Regions from separate parts of the Homo sapiens genome. Here region 2 is linked to region 1. The links are contacts of gene promoters, found by promoter capture Hi-C in blood cells and fetal thymus (Javierre and others, 2016). All regions are on one chromosome and are shown on one strand. The core of a region is centred on a gene start or on the middle of the fragment in contact, and the rest is flanking DNA. Distances in the headings are between cores, read along the strand shown. Region 1 holds the start of ELOVL7 (ELOVL fatty acid elongase 7). Region 2 overlaps LINC03122 (long intergenic non-protein coding RNA 3122).

What was found. Contacts are between HindIII fragments. The CHiCAGO score rates a contact against its expected background, and 5 or more counts as called.
Region 2: a contact is called between a fragment that was not itself captured here and the fragment with the promoter of ELOVL7 in region 1, in 1 of 17 cell types (total CD8 T cells). The highest score is 5.0, in total CD8 T cells.

Annotation. Positions count from the first base shown.
Region 1 is chr5:60,841,198-60,846,343 of GRCh38, forward strand. ELOVL7 (ELOVL fatty acid elongase 7) reads right to left here and starts at 3,072. Exons shown (of 9, transcript NM_024930.3): 1 at 2,963-3,072. RefSeq lists silencers at 2,744-2,803, 2,814-2,973, 2,994-3,293. The HindIII fragment of the contact is 2,652 bases long and covers 1,647-4,298 here.
Region 2 is chr5:61,700,860-61,706,463 of GRCh38, forward strand. All of the region lies in intron 1 of LINC03122 (long intergenic non-protein coding RNA 3122), which reads left to right. Among named protein-coding and RNA genes, the nearest start is that of LINC03152, 5.2 kb to the left of the region's middle. The HindIII fragment of the contact is 3,758 bases long and covers 1,241-4,998 here.

The DNA.
Region 1 (5,146 bases), core at 1,822-4,321:
GTATTTTTAGTAGAGATGGGGTTTCACCATTTTGGCCAGGCTGGTCTCAAACTCCTGACCTAAGGTGATCCACCTGCCTCAGCCTCCCAAAGTGCTGGGATTACAGGGGCGAACCACTGTGCCCAGCCTGAGAATACTAAAATACTATATGGAGTATGATGAAGGAAAATATGCATAGAAAAAAAGAGAGAGACAAAGGCAACCTGGTTAAATATTCATTGTGGTAGAATTATGTTCAGTGGGTCTGAACTCTCTTCTTGGCTCCCTGATCTTATCCTTTTGGTACCAATTTCCAGTCTTATTTTCTCTCTCCTCAAGCCTCTCCATGCACAGCCAATTCTTTCTTGGCAATGCCTCTTGGGAGCAGTCCAGGCCCACTTCACCTTATACAGGTTTTTGTGAAAAGATTCCTATTTGGCCTGACTGTAGCCTATCTATGGCCAGAATAACACTGTCGTTCTATTGCTGAATACATCTACTGTGTTAATCTGTCCATTTATGTTTTATGCACTTTTATGTATGTGCTACGTTTTTCAATAAAAAGGTTTTTTTTTAACTTTATGTGTTTTCATATTTTGTTTTGTCAAGATAAGGATAAATGGTTTTCTGCTGATTTGCTTCATTATACCTCTAAATGTAATGTTTCATCAGAACAGCTGGGTACCTGTTTGTGACAATGGAGTGAACACAGGCTTTTCTCCCCTTCATGTACAATGTCTACCAGCTCCTACACGTTTACCAATGCAAACTCCGTAACTTCCTGTAAAACCTGGCTTAAAAATTTCCATCATCAAACCTGCCTGATGTGTGCTACCAAAATTTATACTGTATCATCTTCTACATTTATCAAGCAACTACTAGCTGTAAGGCCTGAAGATTTAATGTCCTAAGCTGTTTGCAATCTTTTTGTGCAAAGCAAACATAAAAGATGATAACAAATAGCAGAGAAGGGCATATGTGTTCAAAGTGGGGAAGAGGGAGAGTGGTGAAGAGAGGATGGGAGTGGGCGAGACTGATAAAGGCTAGAAGACACCATGTAAAAATTGGATAGAAGATATTTAACGAATGGGAGAGGAATGGCACGGCACCTTGGAGACCAGGATAATGGCAGGACCCTTAATGGAAATGAGCATCTGGAGCTGTTTTGGGGAAAAGCCGGGCAAGTCCAAGCGGAATATTATAATGTGCACTGACAGACGTTACACTAAAACTGAAGAAGACATGGAAAGCACAGAATCTTAAGCCAGATAAATACAGGTGATAGATGAAGTAACAAAGTCCCAAAAATCTATTTTTCTTAAAAAAAAAAAAAGCGGGGGCAGGGGGAGGGTGTGGGGATCCTAAACTAGTATAAAGACACATAAGAAGGAAAAGAGGGACCTGAGATTGACAGCCTGGTCAACGATGCCTGAAACAGCACGGGACTTCAGAAAATAAGGACGAGCAAACGAACTCTAGGTGAGGCAGTGTAGGACAGTGGTTAACAGCTCCAGTGCTGGAGACAGAACCCCAGAGCTGGAATCTCCTACCGCTGAGATGGGTGTGGCCTTGGGCAAGTTACTTAACCTCTCCGTGCCTCAGTTACCTCATCATTAAAATGAGAATAATATTAATATCTACTTCCCAGGATCGTTGTGAAGATTAAAAGCTTTTACACAAGAACTGACATCAGTGCCTGGCACCTAAGCACTGATAAATGTCTGCCACGGGGTGAGGGGTGGATTTTATTTAGTTCTCGGTGACCTTGGGGAGACCAATTTCTGATCAGTAGTACGAAGAGAAACTACAAAGAAAGGGAATGAATAAGCGGGTGCGTGGTAAGAACGCAGAGGCAGCCACCAGGTATCGATGACCCTTTCGGAGCACGTAAGCAATAAAAGTGAGGAATGAAATAAAGGGTAATCCGAGAGCACAGGGTTAAGTGAACATGCTTTCCGAGGGGAGATCGTAGCAAGAGGGAAAAGACCACTGGCGAGGAACTCGGGTCGCTAAAACTGTTCTTCAGTCGACGCGGGACTAACTACACTGGGAGCAGGACAGGTGTAAAGACCCGCTCCTTCCCGTCCCGAGTTCCCCAGGGAGCTCCAAAGAGCGCTCTGTCCGCACCGGGTGAAGTTTGAAACAGCTCTGACTTGAAGGGGGAAAGCCCATTTCCCAACGAACCTGGGAAAGCCCATTTCCCAACGAACCTGGGAAAGCCCATTTCCCAAAGAACCAACGATACCTGGGACGACAAAACAACAGGCTTTCCTGTTTCCATCTCCGGCACGACCTGTTCCACGGCTCTGTATTCATCAGCCTCCTCCCGGCCAGCAGCAGCCACCAAGACAGGATGCGGCTCGGGGAGCCGAAGGGACAGCGCCCCAAGTTCATCTGGCCGCGGGAGCAAAAAAAGCGCCCAAAGGGGAAGGAAGGAAACAGAAAGAAAGGGGCTCCGGAATTTGGGGGGGTGGCTAGCGAGGCCAGACCCCGGAGCTGGGAAAATGACCTCCGCGTCCAAGGTCGAGCAGGTCCTTCTCCCTCCCAGTCCCGCCGGCGAGCACCTCTGCCCCTCCCGCTCCGCTCCGCAGGGCCAGCGCCGCGCGGGACCCCAGTCCAGGCTCCGCTCCGCAGCGCGCCCACCGGGCCCGACCTTCCCTTCGGGATGCTGCCGGGTGGGGGCTCCCGAGAAGGCGCAGGTGAGCGCCGCGGCCCCGCGCTCCGGCGAAAAGGGCCTCGGTCCTCCCCACGCGCAGGCAGCGGGGACAGAACTTCCCAAGCGCCTCCCGAGCCCAGGGAGGGCCTGGCCCCGCTCCCGGGGCCCCCGCACCCGGGTCCCACTTCTCGCGCGCCGCGCCCAAGTTCCTCCATCCGGCCACTCCCGACGCCGTTCCCCTCGGCTCTGCCTCCCTCCCCAGTCTCTTCTCCTCCGCGCGCCGGGAAAGTTTGGCCCCTGCCCGCCGGCCTGGAACCCCGCACTCACCGCACAGGGAGCGGAGCCGAAGCGCCGGGCGCGCGCGGGAGAGAGGGCGGCGACTGGCAGCGCGAGCGCGGAGCTCCTCACAGCGGCCCCCGCTGTCCCGGCCGCCGACTGGGTTGGAAAGGGGAGGAGGCCGCCGGGTGTCACCTGCCCGCTATCCCACCCAGCCGCGTGACGCGCGCAGCGCCGCCCCCTGCCCGCCGCCGCCAGGTGCCCGCCGAGGGCCGGAGGGAGGAGCCGGGGCGGCGCGAGGGGGAGCGGCCGGGAGGGCGGAGGCCGCCCCGGCCTCGCCTCCGCCGCGCGCCCTGACTCTCGGGACTGGGGCCCACCGGCCGCTCTGGGTTAGCGGGGCTGGTCGTGGCACCGATGACCTTTCTTTCCGAGAGCAGATGCCATCACTTGGGGGACATCTCCAGGCTGACATAGCAGAGTGGAAATTGTCGTCATGCGTGACTCATTTGGGAATGAGCAGTAGAAAAATCCGAAATGAGGAAAACCTAGCTGAGGCTGGAGGCGGAGAAAAAGGGGACTCCTTGCTTCTGAAAGGGTATTGGGAGGGTTAATTCGCATCTGAAATGGAAGCCAGACCAAGAGGAGAAGGCCCTGGGAGGGGAAGGCCGACTTGGTTCAGCTCCATCCCCTGCTTATAAGGAATAAGAAACTAGAGAATTGAGGCAGCCTGGGGGGCATGGGGAGAGGACTTTTAGAGCAATGAAGATTAGATTGTATATCATCTAACTTTGTTTCTGGTAACAGCAACTGCTGCAGGAAAAAAAGTCTAGAAAATTCATTTCTCGTTACCTACTGTTGGATTGGAAAGTGGGGGTGGGGATGAGCGTTCGGAGTGTGCACCTGCGCTTGGTTTATTTATTTTTTAAACGTACCTGGCCTTGTGTCTGGTAATGATCCTCCTAATCGCTGGTATGATTTGGATCATCAATAGCTGAAAGGCAAAATAGGGGCCTAGAGAAGTTCCCTGCTTCTGAGGCAAAACCAAAGGCTGGTGTTGAACTGTCCAGAAACCTAAAAAACAATAATCATTTTTAGTTGCAGTCCTGACCCAACCACCTCACAAATGTGGGCTTTGAGTTTGTATTGCGAGTTCTCAGCATGGAATCAAGAAACACAAAAAGGGGCTGGGAGCGTCAGGACCACCAGAGAGGATGGGTAGGGAGAAAAAAAAAATTGGGGTGTCGGAAGCATATTTTCCTCACATGTAGGGATTGCCTTCGGCAGCTTAATCCCACTACATTAAACAAGAGGTTTTAATGTTTTTATGTAAAACTTCGAAAGTGTCCATTGAAAGAAAAGCAAAAAAAAAAAAAAAAAAAAAAAAAAAAGCTTAAATTGCAAAGAATCTCGAAGTCAAAAAAACTAAAGATTTCTCCTTTCTTTTAGATAACTTTGCTTTCATATTAAAAACAGATCATTTAGTAGACTTAGGAAGTCTTTTGGGAACGGGAGACAATTGCCTAATGATACTAGCCTTTGAGTCTATCACAATTTACCATTTATATATACTTATGAAATTTCAAATATGCAGAAGCTCAAATGGATTCATTTATTTAACAAATACTGGAGTGCTGCTATGTTCCAGGCCCTGAAGTTTCAATAGATAACAAATTCCCCGTTCTCAGGGACTATACGTTCATTCTAGTTGGAGATGACAGACAATACATGAATAAAGAAGTAAAAAAAATGTAGTGTTCAGCCAGGCGCAGTGGCTCACGCTTGTAATCCCAGCACTTTGGGAGGCCGAGGCGGGCAGATCGTGAGGTCAGGAGTTCGAGACCAGACTGTGCAATACAGTGAAACGCCGTCTCTACTAAAAATACAAAAATTAGCCGAGTGTGGTGGTGCGTGCCTGTAGTCCCAACGACTTGGGAGGCTGAGGCAGGAGAGTCGCTTGAACCTGGGAGACAGAGGTTGCAGTGAGCAGAGATCTCGCCACTGCACTCCTCCAGCCTGGGCGACAGAGCTAGACTCTGTCTCAAAAAAAAAAAAGAGGAAAAAAAAGAAAAAAAATGTGATGTTCAGGGTTTGATAAGTGCTATGAAGAAAAATAAAGAAGGGAAGGGGATGGAGACTTTTGGAGGTGGGGAGTTGTGTTAAATGTTAAAGTGGTTAGGGAAGGCCCCAGTGGAAGCAGGCATTTCAGCCCAGATTTTGAACAGGTAAGGTGACACA
Region 2 (5,604 bases), core at 1,870-4,369, 860 kb after region 1:
TCTCAGGCTGAATCAAGCTTGGCCAAGCCATGGCCCACAGCCCGCAGGCAGCCCAGGACAGCTTTGAATGCGGCCCAACACAAATTCATAAACTTTCTTAAAACATAATGAGATTTTTCCGTCATTTTTTTTATTAGCTTATCAGCTTTCATTGGTGTTAGTGTATTTTATGTGTGGCCCAAGAGAATTCTTCTTCCAATGTGGCCCAGGGGGAGCCAAAAGATTGGCTACCCCTGGGCTAAATGATCATAATGTGTGGCAGGCAGACTTCTGAGATGGTCACCAACAATCCTGTCTCCTGGCATTCCTGGCCTTGTGTAGGCCCTGACTCCTGGAGTGCACACTGGACTTGAACTCAGGTCCACTTAACCATCAGAGTAAAATGGCTAAGACTTTCAGAAGAGTGGGGAAGGGGAGCTAAAGAGTCCTGCATGAACTGAAAACTTGCATGCTCAATCTACAGTTATCAATGACCTCCGTCACTGCAGGTCCCTCCCCCAGCTCTAACCCCAACCCAAGGGGGATGACTTAGGGCTTGTTGGCCCTTTGGTACCCTAAGCATCCTGGCTAGAACCTTTCTTCAAGATTCTGCCCTTCTCCTTCTTTTGATCTTCTCTTGACCGCACCTGCCGGTCTGAACTGGGAGCTGGCATGGCACCTCTGTCTCTCTCAGCTAGAGAAAACCATCCTCTCATAGCAGAGCCAATCAGAACAATGTTCTCCATAGTGTGGCTTAGGAGCTGCTTCTCTGGATCATGATTACATTCATTGCCACGGTGTGAACTCAAGCACCAGGGGCCAAGGTCTTTCCAGGAGCCCTGGGTCTGGCAGTGGGCTCCTCTGGCAGAGCCCACGTGCCTTCTCTTGGAGGGAGAGCAAACTGAGCCTTTCTGACCCCTGGGGCTGTTGGCATTTCTGTAGTGAAGTTTGGATTGCCAGGCCAATCAGTGCCCACTCCCTTAAATCTGCCCCCAGCATCCGAGGAGCTGCTCTGGGAATTCTGTTCCATGTCCCCAGTTTCCCCCACCCCCAGAGGCCAGCAGCCCTTTTGTTGGTTTGGCTCTCAGCTTAGATCATTGAAGCGATTTCAGCTCCAACTGGGCAACACTCAGCATTTCATTTATGTCTTGGCAAGGTTACCATGTTATTACTTAACTGTGCCGCTGCTACTCAATAAGTGGGAACTGATTGAAATAACCACAGGAGTTACTGGATTCCCCTAATTTTAGCACAGAGTTAAAGCTTACTCCCACAGTTGGAAGTTAAAATAGGCTGCCAGCCCACAGAAATGCCCACCCACCACACCTAATTGTCACCCCACAGATGCCTGTCATGGAAGGAAACATGGAAGGCTGGAGAGAAGTTCTTAGAAGCAAGTTCTTCTCCTCAGTGGATGCCTGAGGTCATTTTGGCCAGGCCCAATTTCTTTGAGACTGTAAGCCTGGGGAAATTTGCATGACTGCTTTAGAGACTCCTGCTTTCTTCCCTGATTTGTCTGACAGGCAGTCGAAGTACAGAGTGCACATTAGAACAACTGTAGAGAACAGAAACTCCTGTCCGGGGGTGCCTCCTTAAATGATTCATTCCTGGAGTCCAGATGTGGGGAAGGCAAAGACCCTGAGAAATCTATGTAATTTGGAAAGCAGAAAAGAGACTTAATCCAAGTTAACTTGCTTTCTCTTGGTGTCATAGCCACCAACCACAACCCAATGACACCACTTGAAGAAAAATTTGAAGTAAATGGCATCTTGTGAAACTTCCCCCATCCCAGAACACTCGAATTGTTTTTTTGTTTCTTGCTATTGAAAACTAGATGTTACTAGATATGTTCTGAAGGCTTCTATGAAAAGTTATTTCTCATAGTGAGCCTGCTTCTTAATATTTCTCCTCCCTGTGCAATTTTGTGTTCTCTTGTACCTACTTTAAGTTATAATCTGCTCTTAACATCTTAGTACAGCATAGTCGACCAGACTGTCAAGGGCAAAGTAGGGGATTAGAATTTGGAGATTTTTAGAGAAAGGGAAAGGCTTTCTCTGCAAGGTGTTTCCCAAGGGGACCCTGGGCAGCCTCCAGAATTCTTGGCAGTGGGCAGATCCCAGTCTCTCAGGCTTCATGGCCTCACAGCTGGACTGTGTGGGAGCCTCCTGACACTGGTTTTGGTGATTAGCATCAGATTAGTCATCTTTAGAGCTCTCTTCCTCCATGCCTGTCTCCTGCCCAAAAATGTCCGTGACTTTCTATTGCCTATAGGATGAAATCCAAATCCCCTAGGCTTTCTTTTTTCTCTCTCTCTCTCTTTCTTTCTCTCTCTCTCTTTCTTTCTTTCCTTCCTTCTTTCTTTCTGTTTTTCATTTTGTCACCCAAGCTGGAGTGCAGTGGCACAATCATGGCTCACTGCAACTTCAACCTCCTGGGTGCAAACGATCCTCCTGCCTCAACCCCCTAAGTAACTACAGGTGCATGTCACTACGTGTGGCTAATTTTTGTACTTTTTGTAGAGATGAGGTTTTGCTGTGTTGCCCAGGCTGGTCTCAAACTCTTGAGCTCAAGTGATTTGCCCACCTTGGCCTCCCAAATTGCTGGGATTACAGGTGGGAGCCACTGCACTTGGAGGCTTTCTTTCAATAAACTGGTTCCTAACAATATGCTGCCCTTAGGCGCCATTTCCACTCCTTGAAAACTCCTTTCTGACCAGACTCACTGTCTCCTTAACACACCTGACCAAACCTACCTCCTTGCCTCTGTCAACTTGTACTCCACAAATGCCATGGCTTCTCCCGTCTACCCTGCTGAGTCTCATCCAACCTTCCTACCTACTTAAGGCTCAGCTCACCTTGCTGTTCTATGTGTAACTTTTCCTAATCTTTCCCAATATATAGCGTTTTTTCCACTTTTGAATTTCTACAAGTACTTTTTGTACAATTATCATGCTGGTCCTTTGTTTTCAACTAGACTCCTTGAGTGTCCTACTCCTTGTAACTATTTGCTAATTGATTATTCTTTCAGAATCAGTATTTCAAGCATCCAAAATGTGTAGGAGAATATGGACCCAAGAACGGAGCAGAGAGACAAATAGAGGAACGGAAAGTTTTGCCTACAACCATGATGTTCTCAATGTTAGCTGACTGTGTTCTAAAATCCACTCCAATTCCCATTTTGGGAGTTGCTATGTGATGAAGGTCTGCCCCTGTGGTGTTGGGACAACTTGCTCATGGAGTTGCAGTTCTTGCCTAACAGGAACCCACCATGGTAAGAAAAAGACTCAAGCTGGTTTATTTGTTTTTAAGGTTGCAAGGTAATCAAGTCCATAACCACACTTGCTCTCACATTTACCAAAATAGGCCAATCTCAGAACTAAATGATAAAAATGAAAATTAATCAGGGACTCCCATGGGCCTCACATATATGGCAGTTTTGAATCTGTTCTTTTTTTCACTATCATAATTGTTTTTTTAAACTCATTTTCTCTGCTTGAATACACAACTGTAAAAAAAAGTGGGGGTAGTGGTGGTGATAGAAATGAATAAACCCATGGAAACAGTGAGACATCTACAGAGACAAAATTAGGAAGGAAGGAAACAAAAGCAATTTCAGTATCTCTGTGCAAGGCCTGCATACCTTTCCTTGCCAATACCCGTGGATTGGGCTTGTCTCAGGAGGTAGCAGGTGTTTCCTTGACTCACACAGAAAACAAGCCCTTGGGCTTCTTGTGCTGTTAGGGCAAGTTACGTTCAGCACATGAACACTGGACCCTGCTTTGCCTGTCCGTCCTTCCCAGAAGAGACACAGATCACAGATGATCAAGTAGTTGAGAAAACAGTTCAAGAGGAGGCTTTGTATCTTTTCTTTCTTTTCTTTCCTTTTTTTTTTTTTTTTGAAACGGAGTCTCGCTCTGTTGCCCAGGCTGGAGTGCAGTGGCATTATCTCGGCTCACTGCAGCCTTTGCCTCCCGGGTTCAAGTGATTCTCCTGCCTCAGCCTCCTGAGTAGCTGGGTTTACAGGTGCCTGCCAGCACGCCCAGCTAATTTTTGTATTTTTAGTAGAGACGGGGTTTCACTGTGTTAGCCAGGATGGTCTCGATCTCCTGACCTCATGATCCACCCGCTTCAGCCTCCCAAAGTGCTGGGATTACAGGCATAAGCCACAGCACCCGGCCCTGTGTCTTTTCTTAATTTGAGCGAACTTAAAGTAAAAACGCTTCTTAACATTATAAAGTAGGACTATGTCCCCTCCATTGAATTTTTGTAAAAAAGTCGAATAGGGATAGAAAGCAAGCAACCAGATAGAATATCATGCCCCAGAACATCATTTACCTTGGTAGAACATTACCACTTTAACACATAGAAACCTTTTCACACTAGTTAACAAATAGCATTAAGCATGATTCAAGTCAAGATTTTAAAAACTTGGCTGATGCCTCTCATTAAGAGTTGAAAACTATATAAGACTCTTGCTCCAGGAAACTGTGTTCTGACATTTTAATAGTATTGCGTTAGCAAGAGCAGAAAATCCATGAACTTAGATTCACAGAAAGTAAATCAAGAATCCATCCAAAATGGAGTGCCTCTTGCTGAGTGATGGGATGGTTTTCATGTGAGATGTCAGTGCAGCTTCTATACTTGACATAAAAGTTCCCATTAAAAAAAACGGAACTGCTGCTCAATTTTTTTTTCATCAAGCAGAGTTACCTAAAGTGCTTTTTAGAAGAGACTATTAGGAAAGGAATGGAAAGTAGTCATTATGACTAATCTGCTTTAGGAGTTGGGGTAACCAGTATTACAGGAGGGACTTTCAGAGCCATGGGGACCTTTTAGGCAACTCAAATTCCTTCAATTGTTTGCAGTGGTCCTCTCGAGGGGATGTAATGAGTTGACATGCACCAGAACAGATAGAATGCACTGCCAGCTGGTAGTTTACTCTTGTACAGGAAGGCTGCTTTTCTAACACACAACTCTTTGTTGTGTTAAAGAGAAATAAATATATAAAAGCCTAAAAGTAAGCTTTCAATTCTTTATGTCTGGCAAAATTGTCAGTACAATGTGCCTTGAGGATATATCCATGGTGCTGTCTTACAAGGTTATTACGAAAGAATAAGCTCATACTATAATAACCACCCCATACACTTTACAGTTTATGAAGAACTTACATATACATTTTCTCAGTTGAACCTCACAACATCAGTGGGAGGCAGGGGAGGCAGATATTATTATCTCTTGAGAGGGAGTGACCCTGCTGCTGCTGCTGTATATGTGTGGCTTTTGGTTTAGGAAGACTAAGTTGATTGTGTTGTATTTTCAAGTATTTTATATCGTACAAGGATGTTTATTGCAGCACTGTTTATAACAAGGAAAAATTGGAACCTACTCGAATGCTTGCTAATAGGGGACTCATTAAACTATGGTACAAGCTTAGATATGACTCTGTAGTCATTAAGAATTTTGATGAGGTATTAGAAAGAAATGTATTGATGTTGAAGTATATTTATTGATGAAGGAAATTGTTCACAATATTTCAGCCAATAAACAATAGTATATGCATTTTTTTGTAATAGGAAAAAATGCACACAGTAAAATAGTGGTTATCTTTGTGTGCGGTGAATATGTA